Regions from separate parts of the Homo sapiens genome. Here regions 1, 2, 3 and 4 are each linked to region 5. Evidence: promoter capture Hi-C in 16 types of primary human blood cells and fetal thymus (Javierre and others, 2016). All regions are on one chromosome and are shown on one strand. The core of a region is centred on a gene start or on the middle of the fragment in contact, and the rest is flanking DNA. Distances in the headings are between cores, read along the strand shown.

The links. Contacts are between HindIII fragments. The CHiCAGO score rates a contact against its expected background, and 5 or more counts as called.
Region 1: the fragment with the promoter of HDC here is called in contact with the fragment with the promoter of EID1 in region 5 in 6 of 17 cell types (total B cells, monocytes, neutrophils and 3 more); the score reaches 8.7 in total B cells.
Region 2: a contact is called between the fragment with the promoter of SLC27A2 here and the fragment with the promoter of EID1 in region 5, in 12 of 17 cell types (total CD8 T cells, total CD4 T cells, naive CD4 T cells and 9 more). The highest score is 16.5, in total CD8 T cells.
Region 3: the fragment with the promoter of TRPM7 here is called in contact with the fragment with the promoter of EID1 in region 5 in 1 of 17 cell types (naive CD8 T cells); the score reaches 7.2 in naive CD8 T cells.
Region 4: a contact is called between the fragment with the promoter of ATP8B4 here and the fragment with the promoter of EID1 in region 5, in 3 of 17 cell types (monocytes, total CD8 T cells and naive CD8 T cells). The highest score is 6.6, in monocytes.

The regions. Positions count from the first base shown.
Region 1 is chr15:50,263,897-50,267,536 of GRCh38, forward strand. It overlaps HDC (histidine decarboxylase), which reads right to left and starts at 1,830. Exons shown (of 12, transcript NM_002112.4): 1 at 1,697-1,830. The coding sequence starts at 1,727. The HindIII fragment of the contact is 18,026 bases long and covers 1-3,640 here.
Region 2 is chr15:50,180,221-50,184,058 of GRCh38, forward strand. It overlaps SLC27A2 (solute carrier family 27 member 2), which reads left to right and starts at 1,976. Exons shown (of 10, transcript NM_003645.4): 1 at 1,976-2,685. The coding sequence starts at 2,208. It also overlaps a transcript of ATP8B4 not described here. RefSeq lists silencers at 1,868-2,207, 2,478-2,577. The HindIII fragment of the contact is 4,085 bases long and covers 1,310-3,838 here.
Region 3 is chr15:50,685,024-50,688,808 of GRCh38, forward strand. It overlaps TRPM7 (transient receptor potential cation channel subfamily M member 7), which reads right to left and starts at 1,774. Exons shown (of 39, transcript NM_017672.6): 1 at 1,508-1,774. The coding sequence starts at 1,510. LOC128092252 reads right to left here and starts at 1,694. Exons shown (of 4, transcript NM_001414947.1): 1 at 1,508-1,694. The coding sequence starts at 1,694. RefSeq lists enhancers at 862-1,726, 1,256-1,675, 1,986-2,165 and a silencer at 1,726-1,895. The HindIII fragment of the contact is 16,005 bases long and covers 1-3,785 here.
Region 4 is chr15:50,116,567-50,120,565 of GRCh38, forward strand. It overlaps ATP8B4 (ATPase phospholipid transporting 8B4 (putative)), which reads right to left and starts at 2,667. Exons shown (of 28, transcript NM_024837.4): 1 at 2,557-2,667. RefSeq lists an enhancer at 1-384. The HindIII fragment of the contact is 5,193 bases long and covers 1-2,670 here.
Region 5 is chr15:48,876,361-48,880,140 of GRCh38, forward strand. EID1 (EP300 interacting inhibitor of differentiation 1) reads left to right here and starts at 1,774. Exons shown (of 1, transcript NM_014335.3): 1 at 1,774-3,780. The coding sequence starts at 1,817. The coding sequence ends at 2,380. The region is part of intron 4 of SHC4 (SHC adaptor protein 4); the gene reads right to left. RefSeq lists enhancers at 1,349-1,458, 1,729-2,028. The HindIII fragment of the contact is 2,982 bases long and covers 1-1,784 here.

The DNA.
Region 1 (3,640 bases), core at 580-3,079, 1.4 Mb after region 5:
TAAGTGAGCAAATGAACAAAAAGGAAAATCTCCAAAGCACAAAACTCTAGCGCCAAAGTGAAACGTTTCATTTTCTTTCCCCTTCCTTTATCCACTTCAATTTTGATTGTCTCTCCTACCTTTCTTTCCTTCTCAGAAACAGAACATCTATTAACTATTTTATAGGTTCAATAGAAACTCTATAGCTCTTTGTATCCAAAAATTGTTACACACACACCCACCAGTTATATCTGTTAGCACAGATAGAAAGATTCCATGCCCAGTTCCGATAAAGGACAAAAAAATCTATTTTTTCACCATCCCCATTGAATCAGTTATTATTCATCTTTTTTGGACTCATATGAGGACTTAATTCAAGAATCTGATTAAAACTGTAGGCTTACATATACACAGAACTTTGTGTATAATTTCTGAGGCTCACAGAATCCCTAAAGCACAACCATGGATCCAGACCAAGCCCCCTGCCCTGGCCTGGGAAATGTGGCACCAAATCTTAATGACTTTCTCTCCCTCCTGCTGCCTCCATCAACACCTCAGTGCTTAGGATATTTTTTAGATGCTAAAAAAAAATGTATCAAGTGAATGAACATATGAGTAAGGAAGGAAAAAAAAGTCAAGTTGAACACTCTGAAACTATTGCAAATTATTTATTCTTTCAGATTGCAGTCTTCAGTGCCTCTGTTGCTGTGTGTGCATGTGTGTGTGTGTACATATCTCTTTGTCTGTCTCAACATCCATTCCTTAGTACTCCCTGGGCTGCTTTTACCTAGGAGAGGGGACTCAGTTTCTCCCCTCTGCATCAGCTTATGCAAAGTTCTTAAGAACAGAACCAACCCCAGACAAAACTTATGAGACAAAGGTAGATTTCCACACCATTCTATCTTCCTTCTGCTCCCCTTCAACCCTCTCACATCCTGGTTCTTCTCCAGCAGGGCCCCACCAGAGATCTGAGAGCTCTAGACCTAACCCTCCACTGATCCAGGAACAGTGCTAAATGTATTTGTGTTCCACTCAGAAGATAAATATCCACAGGAACTTGCTCTCAGCTGACAGTGCCTTAGGAAAGCAATGGAATAAGCTAACGCACACTAATTAGTGAGTAGGAGGATATAAAACATTATAGAAATAGACATTCAAGATTCTTTTTTAAGCAACTACCTACTTTCCTGCTAAGGGAGATCCATGCCTGAGAACTGGATAACCACTTGGTTTTGCCTGATACAGAGTAGGCACCTACTAAATATTTATGAAATGAATGACTAAATGAAAGAACACTGCTGATAGATTCACACATGAAGGAATGAATGTTAAGAAAGAAAGGATTTGCAGTGATTACAGAATATTGAGAAAATTTTTTTCTATTTCAGAATATGAACAATCCCCTTTTCCCATCTAGTGGCTCAGGGATCCAAATCCTCAATTTTGTGGGAAAGTGGGGAGGAAAAGCAAGGCACGGTAGTGTGGACATATGTGAGAGTGGGTATATGAGAGGGAGAATGAAAGAGTGGTTGAGAAAAGTTTTACACTCTGATCCCACATTCCTTTCGCAGAAAAAAAAATGTTGCTGGTGCCAACTCTCAGAAGGCAATTCTAATGCTCCCATCAAATGTCACCCCAGAATCTAAGGGCCACCCACCAGCAGCCGTTCCTGCAGGAGTAGCAGCAGGGAAGAGGGCCAGGGATGCCCGTTGCTCACCTCTCTCTCTGTACTCCTCAGGCTCCATCATCTCCCTTGGGCTCTGGCTCCTTCTCACAGATGGACACGCAGGAGGTGGAAGGCGTGAAAGGCGTGGAGCAGCCCGGCTTCCCTCTTGCCAGTCCTGCGCACTCCCTGGCAGCCAGTGTGGGCCCTTTATTTAAAGGGTTCTTTCTTTGACCTTAGCTCCGCCCTTCAAAGTCCCTTCCTCCAGGTTTAATTAATTCCACCCTTTCTTTCCCCAGTCCTTGTAGAAAACAGCGACCACAACTTTGACTGGTCAAGAGAGCCAGGATAAAAGGCGCTTCTAAATTAAGCAGTGCACTTAGCAACCCAAGCCTGCAGGCAGCCTCCAGGTGGATGCCGTAAAAGAGCCCTCAGTTCTTTCTGCCCCTGGATTCAGACAATAGAGCTCCAGCCTCAGACAAGCTCCCAGCTCAGTAGACCAGAATAAGGCCAAGGGTATGCAGAAAAAGTAGCACAAATTATTAGTATTATTCCTGCCCCTGTTTCCTTATCAGCAGTAGGGAGGGAGGAACAGGCACTAATAGTGATGCCCCCTGTGCCCAGGAACAGGCAGAAGTTATCATTGACCACAATGGATTTTTCTATTACAACATACTATCTGTTGTTGCAAAGAATGAAAAAACACAGTTATAAGCCAAAAAGAATAGAAATTAAAACATCACCCCAAATTAATCACTTTTAGCACTTAAAGAAGTAGAAGGGGGGCGTGTAAAGGGACCTGCAGAAACCCCTGTAGGGAGGGGAAACACTATCCTTGGGGTTTGATTTCTGAGTAAAAAGTAATCCAACGTTTTCACGTTGCTAAATGCAATAGTCTTTCTTGTTTATTTGTTTCCAGTCGTCCTTCTGGTTCTCTTGGTGGCATTTTATTTGTTACTACTTCATCCTTGCAGCTCACAGTTTCTCTGGGCTTTCCTCCTACATCTCTGGCTGTTTGTTTCCTCCAATGCTGGCACACCTCAGGGCATTGCCCTCCTTTCATCTTTCTGCTTTGGTGGCATTGCCCATTTCTAAGGCTTTTTTTGTTTTGTTTTGTTTAGACGGAGTCTTGCTCTGTCGCCCAGGCTGGAGTGCAGTGGCACAATCTTGGCTCACTGCAACCTCTGCCTCCCGGGTTCAAGCAATTCTCCCACCTCAACCTCCTGAGTAGCTGGGCCTACAGGTATGTGCCACCATGCCCCACTAATTTTTGTGTTTTTAGCAGAGATGGGGTTTCACCATGTTGGCTGGGTTTGTCTCGAACTCCTGACCTCAAGTGATCCACCCGCCTCAGCCTCCCAAAGTGCTGGGATTACAGGTGTGAGCCACTGCGCCCGGCCCATTTCTTAGGCTTGAAATGTTACCTATGTGATATCCGTATAGGTTTAAACATACCATCAGGCCCTCCCTGTCTTTTGAGCTTCAAAATCTTATATCCAACTGCCTTTCTGACAAATCCTCTCTTATGACTCTGAGGCACCTCAAACTTAACGTATTGCAAAACTGTCTTTCCCCAAAAATATGCCCCACTTCTAGTCTTCCCCATCTCAGTTCATCATCTCTCCATTTTCCATCCACCCATCTATTCACCCCTTGACCGTCCATTCATCCAACCACTCATCCATCCAACCACCATCCATGCATCCATCTATCCTTTCATCCATCCATTCATCCACCCAAATGCTGAAGGCATAAACCTGGTGTCTTCCTTCCCCTTCACTTTCCCTGCTCCCTGCCCAATTCAATCTGTTCAGATTCAGTTCTATTTCCAAAATAAATCTAGTCTGTCAAATTCTCCCCATTTCCATGACTACCACCCTATTCCGGTCCAAGCCACCATTATCCTTCACCTAGACTAATGCAGGAGGCTTCTCATTGGCCTGTTACTGACCATGGGTTCTTGGGCTCTCAATGTAATAGAAATTGAGAAGGCCAAAA
Region 2 (3,838 bases), core at 726-3,225, 1.3 Mb after region 5:
CTGTACTTCTCTCTGAAGTTGAGCCAGAAAGCATGTACCCCTAAGGGCTGTTGGCAGCCATCTTTGGACAAAAACCAGAGAGCCTGAATGAGAACAGAGGAGGTGCAGAGGAGAAATAGTGAAAGCAAAACTAGATCCAGGTGTCAGCATTTAAAATCCTTGATGTCTTAGCCCCGGACTCTCCAGTTACTACTTAAATTCCTGTTTCTGCTTCAGCTAGCTTGGGTCTTGTTTTCTTTTACTTGTAACTGAGGTTAAAGTGATCCTCAGAATAAGAGGGGAAAAAGTGGACCCTTGTGGTAATCTAGCACTCTGGGTAGACAGTAGCTGTTCAAGGAAAAGAGAAGAGGGGTGCAGGTGGCTACACAGAAGCGATTAGCCATCAAGGGACGAGGGTGGCATTGGGATGAAAAAGGAAGGGCTGGCTCTGAGCTTCACCATGAAAGAAGTGCACATGAGAATGGTTTCTGTCGGGCCCTCACTTTGGTTAATTCTACTGCTTTCTCCTCAGGGATGATGAAGGCCCCCAGCTCATCCCCAGGGAAATGATGCAACCAGGTAGCTGGATCAGAAATGAAAAAGTCAGGAAAAGGGAAAGGTTGCTTGCGCAGTTACTAGGGATACGAAAAGGAGGCTAAAAAACGGCAGGGGGTGGCCTGGAGGGAATGTGAAACATTTTTGTGTGTTTTACACACACCGAAAAAAAAAGAGGACATGGACAGAAACCTAGAGAATAGGAGGACAGCATAGTATAGTTACTAAGAATAAGCTAAGAGTTGGTTCCCCGGGACCAAACAGATACCATTTCCAAAACCCACGAATTACTTACCGGCTGTCTCAATTCACCTAAGCTTCCCTTTCTTGTCTGTAAATGAGCATGAAAGTGCCACCTGTATAAAATAACTCAGGCTCCCAAAATGTAACATAGGGAAGCTCCTAGCAGCGTGTCTGGGAGGAATAAGCATTATCTGTATTTATCGTATCAAATTAAGATAGAGGAACACAGGAGGACAGTAGAGGATGAAAATAAAACACTACTTAGATCCTGACCCTCCTCAGTGGCAAGTAGTGAGCATTCACTTCGTACAGAAGTAGCACTAAGGCAAATTAAAAGAAAGGTTCACATTTCCTCTAAAAGAAATGGTTTTTGAGTCATGCCAATACCACTTACTCAATGTCCTCTGTACTATACTATTCTCTGACAGAGCCACTTATTAAATGTGTGAACTGTGCTGACAACACTTGACAACTTTCAACATGAGGGAACAGCAGGATCACTTAACAGAACAAAATCGTAAAATAATGTCAAAGCTTGATTTCAGGTGGTGCGGTGTAGCACTGCTCTTCACGAAATCAGGACTCCCCCGACCAGGCAGGGCCGACTAGGTTAGAGTGTCCTGCCCTCACTCACCTGGCAGGGCTTGGGATGAGCTGGACGTGACTGCCACAGGCATTTCTGTTCAACCTTGAAGCCTTCGCTACAGGAGACCGCCTGGCAGTCGGGCTGGGAAGCAAATCTGAGAAACAAAGAGAGACCAGGCGGAAAGCCCTTGGGACCAGGAAGGAGAGATGAGATTCTGGTTTGGCAGTGGCACCTGGTACCCGCTATTAATAAATAATAGGACTGTCTGACATTTATAAGGCACTTTATCGGTAATAACAGTGTCATCTCCATAAGCCATTCTATTAGTGGTAACAAATAATAGCCCCACGCCTGCAATATCTCCTTTAATATTCCCAACGTCCGCTAAGCGCGTCTCATCACCATTTAAAGAAACCGTGGCTCCTAGAGGTAAAGTACTTCGGTCACAACGCGAGGAGGTCCAGACTTGACCCCAGACCTCCAGACTCGAGCTGGGAAGTGGCCGAGGCTCCTGGTGAGCCGCAGGGCAGCCTGCCCAGCCCCGGGAGGACCGCGTGGGAGGGCCGGGAGAGCAGGTGGCTGCCCCCCACAAGGGGGCGGGCTCAGCCGGCCAGTCCTGCCCGGAACCCCCGGCAACGCGCATACGACTACACCTGCTCCGGAGCCCGCGGCGGTACCTGCAGCGGAGGAGCTCTGTCTTCCCCTTCATCTCACGCGAGCCCGGCGTCCCGCCGCGTGCGCCCCGGCGCAGCCCGCCAGTCCGCCCGGAGCCCGCCCAGTCGCCGCGCTGCACGCCCGGGGTGAACCCTCTGCCCTCGCTGGGACAGAGGGCCCCGCAGCCGTCATGCTTTCCGCCATCTACACAGTCCTGGCGGGACTGCTGTTCCTGCCGCTCCTGGTGAACCTCTGCTGCCCATACTTCTTCCAGGACATAGGCTACTTCTTGAAGGTGGCCGCCGTGGGCCGGAGGGTGCGCAGCTACGGGAAGCGGCGGCCGGCGCGCACCATCCTGCGGGCGTTCCTGGAGAAAGCGCGCCAGACGCCACACAAGCCTTTTCTGCTCTTCCGCGACGAGACTCTCACCTACGCGCAGGTGGACCGGCGCAGCAATCAAGTGGCCCGGGCGCTGCACGACCACCTCGGCCTGCGCCAGGGAGACTGCGTGGCGCTCCTTATGGGTAACGAGCCGGCCTACGTGTGGCTGTGGCTGGGGCTGGTGAAGCTGGGCTGTGCCATGGCGTGCCTCAATTACAACATCCGCGCGAAGTCCCTGCTGCACTGCTTCCAGTGCTGCGGGGCGAAGGTGCTGCTGGTGTCGCCAGGTGAGCCCCGAGGATCGCCCTGCCCTGGCACCAGGGCTTCTCGGCGCCTTGACTGACGAGCCACAGCGTGGCATAAGGGGTTCGCAGAGGGAGGTTCAGATCGGAACTGTAGGTATAGAAAAAGGTTGGCAGTGTTTCCTTGAATCGCAAATAATGATCTTTTAGGACCACCTGTTGTGGAAGCTGATAATGTGCTAGGTTCTGTGTTAAGCACTCTACAGGCAGTGTGGTTTTTAATCCTCACAATGGGTAGGCTTTGTTATAGGACTTTTATAGATGAGACCACTGAGGTCCTGAGAGGTGAAGCCTCATGCCCAGCCATCTATCTCCAAATTCCAAGCTCTTAATCAATACTTATAACATCTGCATTAAAATGCAGAGGATCTTGAGTGCGAACTCTAGTGGATCCAGAGGGGCTCTTCTCACCTCTGCTGCTTGACTGGCTGTGTGATCATGGGAAAGTCACTTCTCCTCTCTGTCCCTTGGTTTGCTCCTCTCTAATGAGGCAGGCTTCAATGTTGCTTCCAGCTCTCAACTGCTGTTAGCATCCTGTCCCCTCCCTGCAGAACAAAGGTGACCCCACCTGATCCCCAGGGAGAAGATACTGGGGATCTGCTACAGGACCGTTGTGAGCCCCCACTGCATCTATCACAATAGTGACCCTTTCAGTTCTGTGGTTAGCTCCTGCCACATTTCAGCCAGACTTGAAACAGTAACTTAAGTGATGACAAGGTCAGGAAGTGACAGAGAACCTGTTACTCACAGGGCTGATGGCTTTCCCCTCCCAGAGAGCTTGTCTCTGCACTTGAATAAGGACCAAGGGTTCCTTCTCTCAGTCAGTAAGAAGAGGCCTACACAGGAGTGGGCTGAAAGACCTGGGTGACAGGGTAGGGGTCGAGGGAGCCGAGGAGCCTCAGCTTTCTAGAATGCATTTCTGTGCTAAGCCCTATAGTAGATGCTTTTATTACCCCGGGAGATAACATATCACTATCCCCACCACCACCACCACCATTATACAGTTGAGAAAACTGAGGCTTAAAATTCCAACCTAGCTCTATCCAACTTCGAAGCCATGCTCTTTCCTACATCTTTTTTTTTTTTTTTTTTGACAGTCTCGTTCTGTTGCCCAGGCTGGAGTGCAGTGGCGCTATTT
Region 3 (3,785 bases), core at 524-3,023, 1.8 Mb after region 5:
CATAAATGACATTTGTCTGGGATTTGCTTTAAAATTATCCCATTGAGGAATGATAGAAGAAATAAAATTCACATGGTTGAAGCTGTTGAAACTGGCCAATGGGTATATGGTAGTTCATTCTACAATGTATCTTTGCAAGTTTGAAATCTCCCATGTTGGCCTGGCGCGGTGGCTCACGCCTGTAATCCCAGGACTTTGGGGGGCTGAGGCGGGCGGATCACCTGAGGTCAGGAATTAAGAGACGAGCCTGCCAAACATGGTGAAACCCCGTCTCTACTAAAAATGCAAAAATTAGCCGGGCATGGTGGCTACAGTCCCAGCTACTCGGGAGCCTGAGGCAGGAGAATCGCCTGAATCCCGGAGGCGGATGTTGCAGTGAGCGGAGATCGCGCCACTTCACTCCAGCCTGGGCGACAGAGTGAGACCCTGTCTCAAAACAAACAAACAAAAAAGAATAAGGTGGAAAATAGTGAAAGACACATTATTTATTCAAAGTATTACTACATTTGTGTTATAAGTAAAACTCTTATTTTAGTTTTGTATGGCACTTGAATTAGCGTCCAGTGAAAAGCAAACTTGCCAGACTCCAGCAGAGGGAGAGTTGTTTGCATAAAGCCTATCAAATTCAAGTACTGACCAAAAATACCTACTTTGCTCTTCATGTCCCTGATGTAAATGACTTTCTTAAGAAATCTTCAAAATTGGTTCCTGATATCCAAAAATAAAAAGCTCTATCGGAAGCTGCAATGCACCGCCTCCCTCTCTCCATTCCGCACCTTTCGGTTTAAAACACGATCAACTGTTCTCTGGGGCAAGGGATGCGGTAGTTCGACTTAAATCCTGACTGACAGTACATTGTCTTGGTCCCCACAGAAGCCTCCCCCCACCCACCAAAATCCTTAATTCTTGCTAAAGAAAAAAGATCTACCATCAATATTGTCAAATCCCTCCCTTTTGGTTCCAAAAAGGAAATGTACCTGTAGAGTATCCGCTGCACAGCAAACAAGGCACTGCTCCAAACCCGTGTCCTCTACCCCCTTTTTGCACCCTTCTAGCCCTCCCTCCCTTTTTTCCATGTAAAACTTGAGCAGAGCATTTGGTTCCCTTATCTGCCAGCAACTGGCGCCAGGAGGACCGTGCTCCCAGGAGATGCGGAGCTTGTAGGCTGAGCCCTGCGTCGGGCGCGCTGAGGCCGCTCAGCTGAGCCCAGCCAGGTAGTCCCGGGCTCGCGCCTCTGCCGCCTGGAGAGGCCCTCGCTGGGAGCCGAGTCTCGGCTCAGGGGATTCCCGCGAAGAGGTGTCGCCTCTAACTTGCTACCTGCTCCCGCCCCTCACCCCAGAACGAACTGCACACCCGTCCCGAGAGGACAAATCCGGAAGCCTCAAGGCAATTCGAGGGTCCTTCGCCGCATGGAACGCGGCTCCCCACACACTTGCCTGCCAAGTCTCTCCTTTACCGCCCGCAACCCCAGAACCATTCCCCGCCCGGGCCTGCGTGGGTCCAGTACCATTCTCCTCACGGGGCGGACTCCGGAAGGGCAGCAACTCCACCTCCTCCTCCTCCGCGGCCTGTAGCCATCTATCGGGAAGCGTCTCCGGAGGCGGCAGCAGAGGCCGCCGGACAAGGAACGCCCAGGGAAACCTTCTCAGAACTAACTCAGCTCCGGCGCTAGCAGCAGAAGCCGAGTCTTTCATAATTGTGCGACCAACTCCTCCGGGTGACTGGCCACAGGGACGCGCCCGCGCCCGCCTCCGCCGGCGACGGGGCTGGGGACGGACCACGTGAGCGGCGCGGCGCGGCGCGTGCGTCGCCGCCCGCGGGTCGGGTCACGTGAAGGGCGCGCGCTCCCTCGATTCCAGGCCGCCTCCCTGCGCGCCGCGCGCACGCGCTGGGCAGGTTCGCGCCGCCACGCCGACCGCCTCTGGGTTCCCAGAAAGTGGTGGGGTGTTCACGCCGTATCTCCGTTGGGTACCTAGGCGGGACTTAGACAAACTTCAGCCTCAGCTACGAGAGTGGAACTTGGGGAATCGGAGGTTGAGGGTTAAGGTTCAAGGCTTGCGGATCCAGTCTGGAGTTGCTGTGTGGGCTCATTCCGCTAACTAGGCCTGGCCTGTGCCGACTCGCTCCAGCAAACTCGAGTGTCGCAACACACTCTGTGTGCTTCAGAGCGAGTAGAGGCTTTAAATGTTACTCTCTCCTCGTCCAAAATGCAGAATCATCTTTTTACCCCAATCATGTTCTTTCTCTAGCCTCTCCTGTTGCTGCCGGTAAATATTCTTCTTTGTTTAACTATGGGACTGTCTTTTTCCCTCCAGAGATACTCACCCACATACACGCATACACCACACCTTCTGCACCAAAAACTGGGTTGTTCCCTTGATGTAATATGTACCTATCCACCTTTCCATTTATTTTGCTGTCACACATGCCAAGGTTTGGCTATTAGCAATGGTTTACTAAATGTTATTCCTTATCTACTGGGAAGACCACAATCAGTTTAATTTTCTTAAAACTGCTTTAACATCTTTCTGCTCCTGAAGTCTTCGAGAGTTCCTCAATCTGACCCTCAGGGATCTGACTGTCTTATCTCTTTTTTAAAAACGACTTTATTTTAAAATAATTGACATGACAAACTGCACGTATTTAAATGTCCAATTTGATAAGTTTTGACATACCTGTGCACCCATGAAATCACCATAATCAAATGAACGTATTCACCTCTAAGTTTCCTCCCCCCCCTTCATAATCCCTTCATCTCGTCCCTCTCCATCACGTCCCTTATCAACTACAGATCTACTTTCAGTACAGATAAGTTTGCACATGCTAAAGTTTTATATACGGGAATCATACAGCACGCACCTTTTTTTTCCGTCTAACTTCTTTCATTCAGCATAATTATTGCCTCTCAAACATTATGACCCACAATTCACTGAAGTAGGATCTTCTCTCAGAAAAAAAACTAATCCACCCACTGGTTCCCCCAGCTTGTGAACAATCTTCAGGTATTGTGTATTTCTTCCCCATCTGGCAGGTCCAGCAGAACCAAGACTTAAAAATGTTTTAATATATGTGTCACACTAAATTGTCAGCCTTGGGGAAGGCATCTTGACTAATTTATGCATGCAGTCAATAAATGTTTATCTTCTGGATTTCAGTTGGGCCTACACATTTCCTGCCTGTAGGGAGTTTATAATCTAGAAGGTAGAGGCAGACAAACTGGAAAATCAAAATAAAATGAGATTAGAGTGCTTTGTTTCGTTAGAACTTTGTAACTCTGGTCTTTTTGTACTCACGAATGCTTCGCTCCTTAGTTGGATGGTGTAGAAATGAAACAAGATGAGCTCCTTGGCACTTGCCAGAACTCTTTGGTAAATTGGAAAATTTAGAGTTAGAAATGGGGAACAGGATTGGGTGGGCGCGGTGGCTCATGCTTGTAATCCCAGCACTTTGGGAGGCCGAGGCGGGTGGATCACCTGAGGTCAGGAGTTCTAGACCAGCCTGGCCAACACGGTGAAACCCCGTCTCTACTAAAAATACAAAAATTAGCTGGGCATGGTGGCAGGCGCCTGTAATCACAGCTACTCGGGGGGCCGAGGCAGAAGAATCGCTTGAACCCAGGAGGCAGAGGTTGCAGTGAGCCGAGATCGCGCCATCTCACTCCAGCCTGGGGGACAAGAGCAGGACTTCGTCTCAAAAAAAAAAAAAAAAAAAGAAAAAGAAAAGAAATGGGGAACAGGATTTATCCTTAATTGAACTAATCAAAATAAATTCCTTAATTTTCAAGT
Region 4 (3,999 bases), core at 1,417-3,916, 1.2 Mb after region 5:
AGTCAAGGGGGAATGAATGACCTCACCCAGAAAGGACAAGAACAAAGAGAGGTGAGGAAAGGACAGAGGACGAGGAACAAGGACAGAGCTCTAGAGGGCGCTCAACTTCAAAAGAAAGGTCAGTGAAGGATCCATTGAAATGAAATGCTGTGGCCCTCCCTCTGTGACCTTTTCCCCTAGGCATCTAGTACAGTGCCCGGCACTGGGTAGGTACTCAAACTCCAGTTGAGTAAATAAAAGGAGAGAGAAAAGCAAGGTAGCTTTAAAGTAAGGAAGGAACATGTTTCCAAAAACATAATGATCAATAATATTTAATATTTAATTAGAATTTATTAATATTTGAAATATATAATGTTGCTAGGAGGTTACTATTTTTTAATATCTTTTCATGAGAGATTCTAAAAATAAATACTTGTTTCTAATTCTTACTCATGCTATACAAGAATTTAGATTACACACATTAAGTTTTGTTTTTTATTTTTTATTTATTTATTTTTTTGTGGAGACAGAGTCTCGCTCTGTCACCCAGGCTGGAGTGTAGTGGCCTGATCTCGGCTCACTGCAACCTCCACCACACGGTTCAGGCGATTCTCCTGCCTCAGCCTCCTGAGTAGTTGAGATTACAGGAGCCCACCACCATGCCTGGTAAATTTTTGTATTTTTAGTAGAGAGGGCGTTTCATCATGTTGGCCAGGGTAGTCTCGAACTCCTGACCTCAAGTAATCCACTTGCCTCAGCCTCCCAAAGTGCTGGGATTACAGGCATGAGCCACTGCATCTGGCCAAACATACATTAAGTTTAATTTCAATGACAGCTACAATTTCCAATTTACTTTTAGATGGTTAGTTAACTCTTTTCCTACTAAATGAAAATATTCAATATGCCACATATGAAAAAAATAAAATTCTCCCACCCACAAAAAAATCCTCCAGGGGCACAAAAAAAATCATTTGTTCCCTCATTTTTAAATATTTCTGCATGATGAGACAATATAAAGGCACAATATAGGTTAAAATAAATCACTCTGTGGTTTCTCAAAAAAAGTGAAAACAGATCCACCATATGATCCAGCAATCCCACTTCTGGGAATACATCCAAAAGAAAGGAAATAAGTACCTTGAAGAGATATCTGTACTCCCCTGTTTATTGCAGCACTATTCACAATAGCCAAGATATGGAAGCAATAATATTTCTTCTTGAGGAATAAAATTTTTAAATGTGGTATTTATATACAATGGAATATTATTCAGCCATGAAAAAGAATAAAACTCTATCATTTGCAGCAACATGGATGGAACTGGAGGATATTATGTTAAGCAAAATAAGCCAGGCACAGAAAGACAAATATCACATATCCTCTGTCATATGTGGGAGCTAAAAAAGTTGATCTCATGAAGGTAGAGAGGGAGAATGGTGGTTACCAGAGGTTAGGAAGGGGAAGAGGAAGAAGGGGGTGAAGGTAGGCTGGTTAATGGGTACAAACATACAGTCAGATAGAAGGAACAGGTTCTAGTATTTGATAACACGGTAGTATGACAATAGATAATGATAATTTATTTTTTATTTATAATAAACGATATAGATATAAACGATAAAATAAACGATATAGATAATGATAATTTATTGTATCTCAAAATAGCTAGCAGATTTGGAATGTTCCCAACACAAAGAAATGGTAAATGTTTGAGGTGATATATATGCTAATTACACATCGTATGCATATACCAAAATATCACATGTACCCCATAAATATGTGCAGTTATTACATATCACATAAAAAATAAAAAATACATTTAAAAAAATCAAAACTGAAATCACTCTGAGTTTACATTTTGTAGTAAAGGCCAGCATGGAGCAACAGCTGAGTAAAAGGGGATACTTCATGGGCACAGGTGTTGGTAATCCCACAAGAAAACCTGTGTTTCCTCATTTACTTTCTAACAAGACTTCAGCTTCCAATTAATGTTTTTCACCAGTTTTCTTTTCTTCAAAACAGCTAATTGTTAACCAGGGACCTGAGACACTCTCTTGCCTATAAACAAAACAACTAGAAGGATACCTTTTTCTGTTCAGACAAATTTTAGCACTAAAAACATAACCCTCAAACCTCAGAGGGATAGCTCAGTGCAAACTGTTCATGTCTAAAGCATAAATTGACCATAAACAATATATTGAATAGGTGCACTGTATACAAACCCCGTGAAAAAAATAAAACCAACTACTACCAAAGGAAGTGACAAAGACCTACAAACCAAGAAGAAATGTACCTTTATGCTACTATCATTGGTCATTTAATAGGCATGCTAACAGAGTAAAAAATAGACATTTCAAACAACAAAAAAGAAAATGTCACATCTCCCATTTCCAACTAACTCCCCCAAATTTATTTTTTAGCAAAAGGGGAATAATAAAGAATATTTGTGAAACCTTAGTCACCAAGATGAAAACAGCAAAACAAAATAGGGATCTGGAGAAAAGAAACAGATCGTTCCAACCAGCCCACAGCTAAATTTCCACTTCATCTCACTAACCATTGAATGCTACCCATCTACTCACCTCAACCCAGACTTAATCCTCTCCCCCAAAAGGAAGATTTCTCAGCAGTGCAGGAAGATCAAACAGGTATCCATTCCGTGACCATGCCAAGGAGAAAAGCAAGGCTACTCTGAAAGCTTGAGGGATGATACAGAAAACAAACTGGGTCTCTAGGGGGCATTCTCAAAAACCTGAGATCAACTCCTGGAAAAACACTCTTGACCACTTACCACCACCGGAAGCTGCTAGATGGCAATCAGAATCAGCATCTCATCAGAAGAAGAGGAAGACCTTACAAGAAAGCAGCTTCACTGTCAGTGAGGAATTGAGGGAGAAAAGCACTCCTTGGAAAAATGCTGAAAGCCCTGAAGAGCCTCTCCTCCCCTAGTTGCCTGCTCCTGCTGACAGGACAGAACTGGTTAATCTTGGGGAAACAAAAGGAAACTCCCAAGAGGCTGGCTTCTGAGGATGGCTTCCTCTGTGGGAATCAAGAATTCAGGAGGATGAAAATGAACAATGGAAGGGGACACCGGCTACCAGGCCTACTTACCAAACTTTTACCAGCCCTTGACTGAGGAAGATAAGCAAATCTGTTTGCAGTTCCCACCTGCTTTTGCAGAGATGAAAGAATCAGCAGTGGGTTTTTGTCACTTTTTTTTTTTTTTTTTTTTTTTTTTTACAGGGGAAGTTCAGCTCTCTTATGGATGAAAGCTAAGCATACTCAAGTGACATTTAGTAGGCAAAGCAATGACACTTCTTTCCCAACATCCTTAATTTCAGCACAGAGGATGCAAACATTAACCCTGATGGTACCAAAGAACAAATGCACATAGGAAATGGATTTACATCTTTTAGTTTGGAATTGCTTTTAAGGGGATTCTGGTTGTTAAAGCGGGATTAGATGAAAATAAAATATTTTGGTGCATATCTATTTTTAAAAGGAAAAATATGGCTTCTTTTAAATATGCCTAAAGCCATCTAGGAATTTTCCAGAAGTTGCATCAGATTTGCCAGTTAAGTACTGAAATCAAATAGATTTTAATCATGTCTCTATAACCAGAGCAAGCTAATCCCCTGCGCACCATCAACTCCACTCTCCTGGAACATCCTCACGCTGGGCCCTCAGGTTTTCACAGAAACAAGGGCCTTTTCCTACCAAGGTTCCACAGTAACAAGAAACTACAGATTTCTGGAAATAAGAGAGATGGCTTTCTTTCTTACATGATAAAAGAGGACCAAGAACAGCTTAGAGCAGGAAGCAATCATCTCTTTAAAATATTTAAAATAAAAAACACTTTTAAGTGAAAAACATTTTTAAGTATCACCTCTATACCATTTTTAAACCTATCATATGGGGCAAATATAAGTTTGGTAATTCCCTTTGTTAAAGAAGATATAAGGAAATCAGGGCCTTTTCCTTTTCCTATACTGTTAGTGGGAATATAAATTGGTAAAATATTTTTT
Region 5 (3,780 bases), core at 524-3,023:
TCTCAGCTTTCAAAATATTTTGAGCATTACTTCCTGTATTAGTCATGGTTCTCTAGAAGCACAGAACTAATGGAATATATACATATATATATACACACACACACACACGTATATACACATACACACATACATATACACATATATATGTATATATATGTAAAGGGGAGTTCACTAAGTATTAACTCACATGATCACAAGGTCCTACAATAGGCTGTCTGCAGGCTAAGGAGAGAGGAGAGCCAGTCCGAGTTCTGAAACTGAAGAACTTGGGAATCCAATGTTCGAGGGCAGGAAGCATCCAACACAGGAGAAAGATTTAGGCTGGGAGGCTAGGCCAGTCTCTCTTTTCACATTTTTCTGCCTGCTTATATTCTAGCCAAGCTGGCAGCTGATTAGATTGTGCCCAACCAGATTAAGGGTGGGTCTGCCTTTCGCAGCCCACTGACTCAAATGTTAATCTCCTTTGGCAACACCCTCACAGACACACCAATGATCAATACTTGTATCCTTCAATCCAATCAAGTTGACACTCAGTATTAACCATCACACTTCTCATCCACAAAAGACGGAATGGATCTGTGACCCATTTGTGAATAAGCCAGGTGAATCCACTTTGTCCACGCTAGAAGAGGATCAACTGCTTGATATTGCAAATGACGGTGGCCTTAAAAGTATGTTTGAGACAACTTCAAATCTCCATACGTTCTCGATTAAAGTCAAGGCGGAACATCCTGAGATTGCCACAAAAGTACTGAAAAGCCTCCTTCCATTTTCAACATCCTATCTTTGTGAGGCAGGATTTTCCACAGTAACAGCAACCAAAATGAGATTACAGAATAGACCGGACATAAGGAACACACCTCGGGTGTCACTGTGTCTCATCACCCCCAGATGGGACCATCTAGTTGCAGGAAAACAAGCTCAGGGCTCCCATTGATTCTACATTATGGTGAGTTGTATAATTCTACATAACTATAATGTAATAATAATAGAAATAAAGTGCAGAATAAATGAAATGTGCTTGAATCCTGTAAGTATACACAGTCATATAATTCATATAAGTATATACAACTTAAAACCTGAGGCTTTTAAGTTGAAGGTAAAAACAGGTAAAACATGTTTTTAAAAAACACACAAAATAGTATTTTGCTGTCAATACATAAAGATACATGTAAATGCAAATAAAAAGAATTCAAAGAATACACACCGCATTGCTAATAGTGGAAAGATACCTCCCAGGCGAAAAGAAATGGGACCAAGTATTTCTTCACTATAACTAAAAAAAAAAAAAGTACAATATATCTGTTGTTTGTGAATTTAACTTTTTAAATGAAAACACTAAAAGGACAAAATGGATTAGTTCTTAATATGCTGATCTGTGGTTATGGATGTTGTCTGGTTTGGAGACGTGGATTTACAAGTCATCAGTACATCGGTAAATTGCCCAGGGGAAGAGGAAGGGGGGGAAGGAGCATTAAATGTTACGAAGGCCATGTAAGGTTATTTTCCGGTTTGCAGCATTACAAGCAGCAGTAGGGTTAAGTAACACAGAAACTGTTACGCTCTTGCATGCAGGGTCCCTAGATACGAAGTTCGAATCGATGGAAACGTAGCTCAAAAGGCGACGCCAACACCCCGGAGAAAACACTGAGCTACTCCAACCACAGTGGCGCGCCAAGTAGGAGGCGGTACCTGAGGACCACGCCTGCGCGCGGGGTTACGCAAGCGCGCAGCCTTTGCGCACGCGCACGAACGCACGGCCGCGCAGCATCTGTCTTGCTGGAAGCTTTTTCCTAGAGGTTGAGCGGTTTGCACAATGTCGGAAATGGCTGAGTTGTCCGAGCTGTATGAAGAGAGCAGTGACCTGCAGATGGATGTGATGCCTGGCGAGGGTGACCTTCCGCAGATGGAGGTAGGCAGCGGGAGCCGGGAGCTATCCCTGCGTCCCTCCCGCAGCGGGGCCCAACAGCTCGAGGAGGAAGGCCCAATGGAGGAGGAGGAGGCCCAGCCAATGGCGGCGCCAGAGGGGAAACGGAGCCTTGCTAACGGGCCCAACGCTGGGGAGCAGCCAGGCCAGGTGGCGGGCGCAGACTTCGAGAGCGAGGACGAGGGCGAGGAATTTGATGACTGGGAGGACGACTACGACTATCCCGAAGAGGAGCAGCTCAGTGGTGCCGGCTACAGAGTATCAGCCGCTCTTGAAGAAGCCGACAAGATGTTTCTGAGAACAAGAGAACCAGCCCTGGATGGCGGGTTTCAGATGCATTATGAGAAGACCCCGTTTGATCAGTTAGCTTTTATCGAAGAGCTTTTTTCACTGATGGTTGTCAATCGTCTGACCGAAGAACTCGGCTGTGATGAGATTATTGATAGAGAGTAGTTAGATGCTGTTAAAAGAGGAGGAAACTACTTGAGGAGGGACCCAACTTTCCGCTATCTTTTGGGTTCATTCCAAATAGTTTTGTGCCATTGAAAAACTTGACCTTCAAAAAAATTTGTTTTTCAGAATAGAACACAATAGGACAGTGACTGCACAGTTGTGAAAAAGGAAGAGAATCATTAAAGAAAAAGAAAAAAGATTTTAAGACCGTTGAAATCAATTATCAAGAACGTCCTAAAACACCTATGGCTTTGACTTTGTTATTGATCCAGATTATTTTCCTTGCATTGGGGAAAATATCTTTCATATTTGTTTGCTGTAAAGATGGTTTTGCAAGAATAAGTCATGACCAAGACAAACTGCCAATACAAAAGCCCACTGATACTAATTATATAATGAGAAAAAAATGTATCCAACTAGGACACATATCTTTTGAGTTATTTGGACTGAAAGCTTAAGAAAACTTGGAAAATTCTATTTTGTGATCTAGTCAAGCCACAGTTATCAAAGGCTACATTTTCAGTGTAAGATAAATGGATGAGTAAACTCAAATATGTATCACGTGTGCTTTGTATCTTAAGATGTGTTTCCAAGAGCATCTGAAATTTTGTTTGTACATGTATCTTGATCATTTATAAAGCCACTGTGATCTATAAATCAAGAAAATCCATTGTCATAACCATTTTTAAAAGTCAAAAATTAAGACATCCTTAATTAAAAAGTTTCAAATCTAGACACTAAATGTGTGTGAATGTACAAAGAAAACAAACCATTGCTTATGCTGTTATATACTAGAGAAATTTTGTTTTGCTTGCTGTTTTAACTTGACAGATGAAGGACTTTAGTTGAACTTCATATTGTAAGAACTGTTAATAAAAGTTGTCAAGTAAAAAGCGCTATATCTAAAAAGACTTTATGAACAGTTATTCTATCAACTTTTAAAGGTTTTAAACCTGCCCAGAAATTACCTTGGTATCTGAAGTTTCCCTCTGTCTCCTCCTCTAATTAAGCTTGTTATTTGTCATGCACCAGCATTGGAGATAATAAAATTTCTTGTTCTGTGTATTTTGTTTGGCTAATAGTATTGCATACATACTTTCTCTGTATACTACTTTCTATTGTATGTGTTAACCAGTATTAAGGGAAAATGATCCAGCTTCAGCTATCTAATTCACAAATTAATTTCTGGAAATTAAACTTTGTAAATTAAGTTTTTGCCTATAAGAATTTGCTGGTCTGGGAAAACCTGCCCTATCAATGAGTATGTTGCCGTGGTTACCTTACTAAGATGCTGAAGTTCTAGGAGAGTAATGATTACATCAGAAGGCTAGGTTCAGCAAAATAAGTGTATCAGCAGGTTTTATCATGATCAGTAAAAATGTTCCAAATGCTTCTGCTCC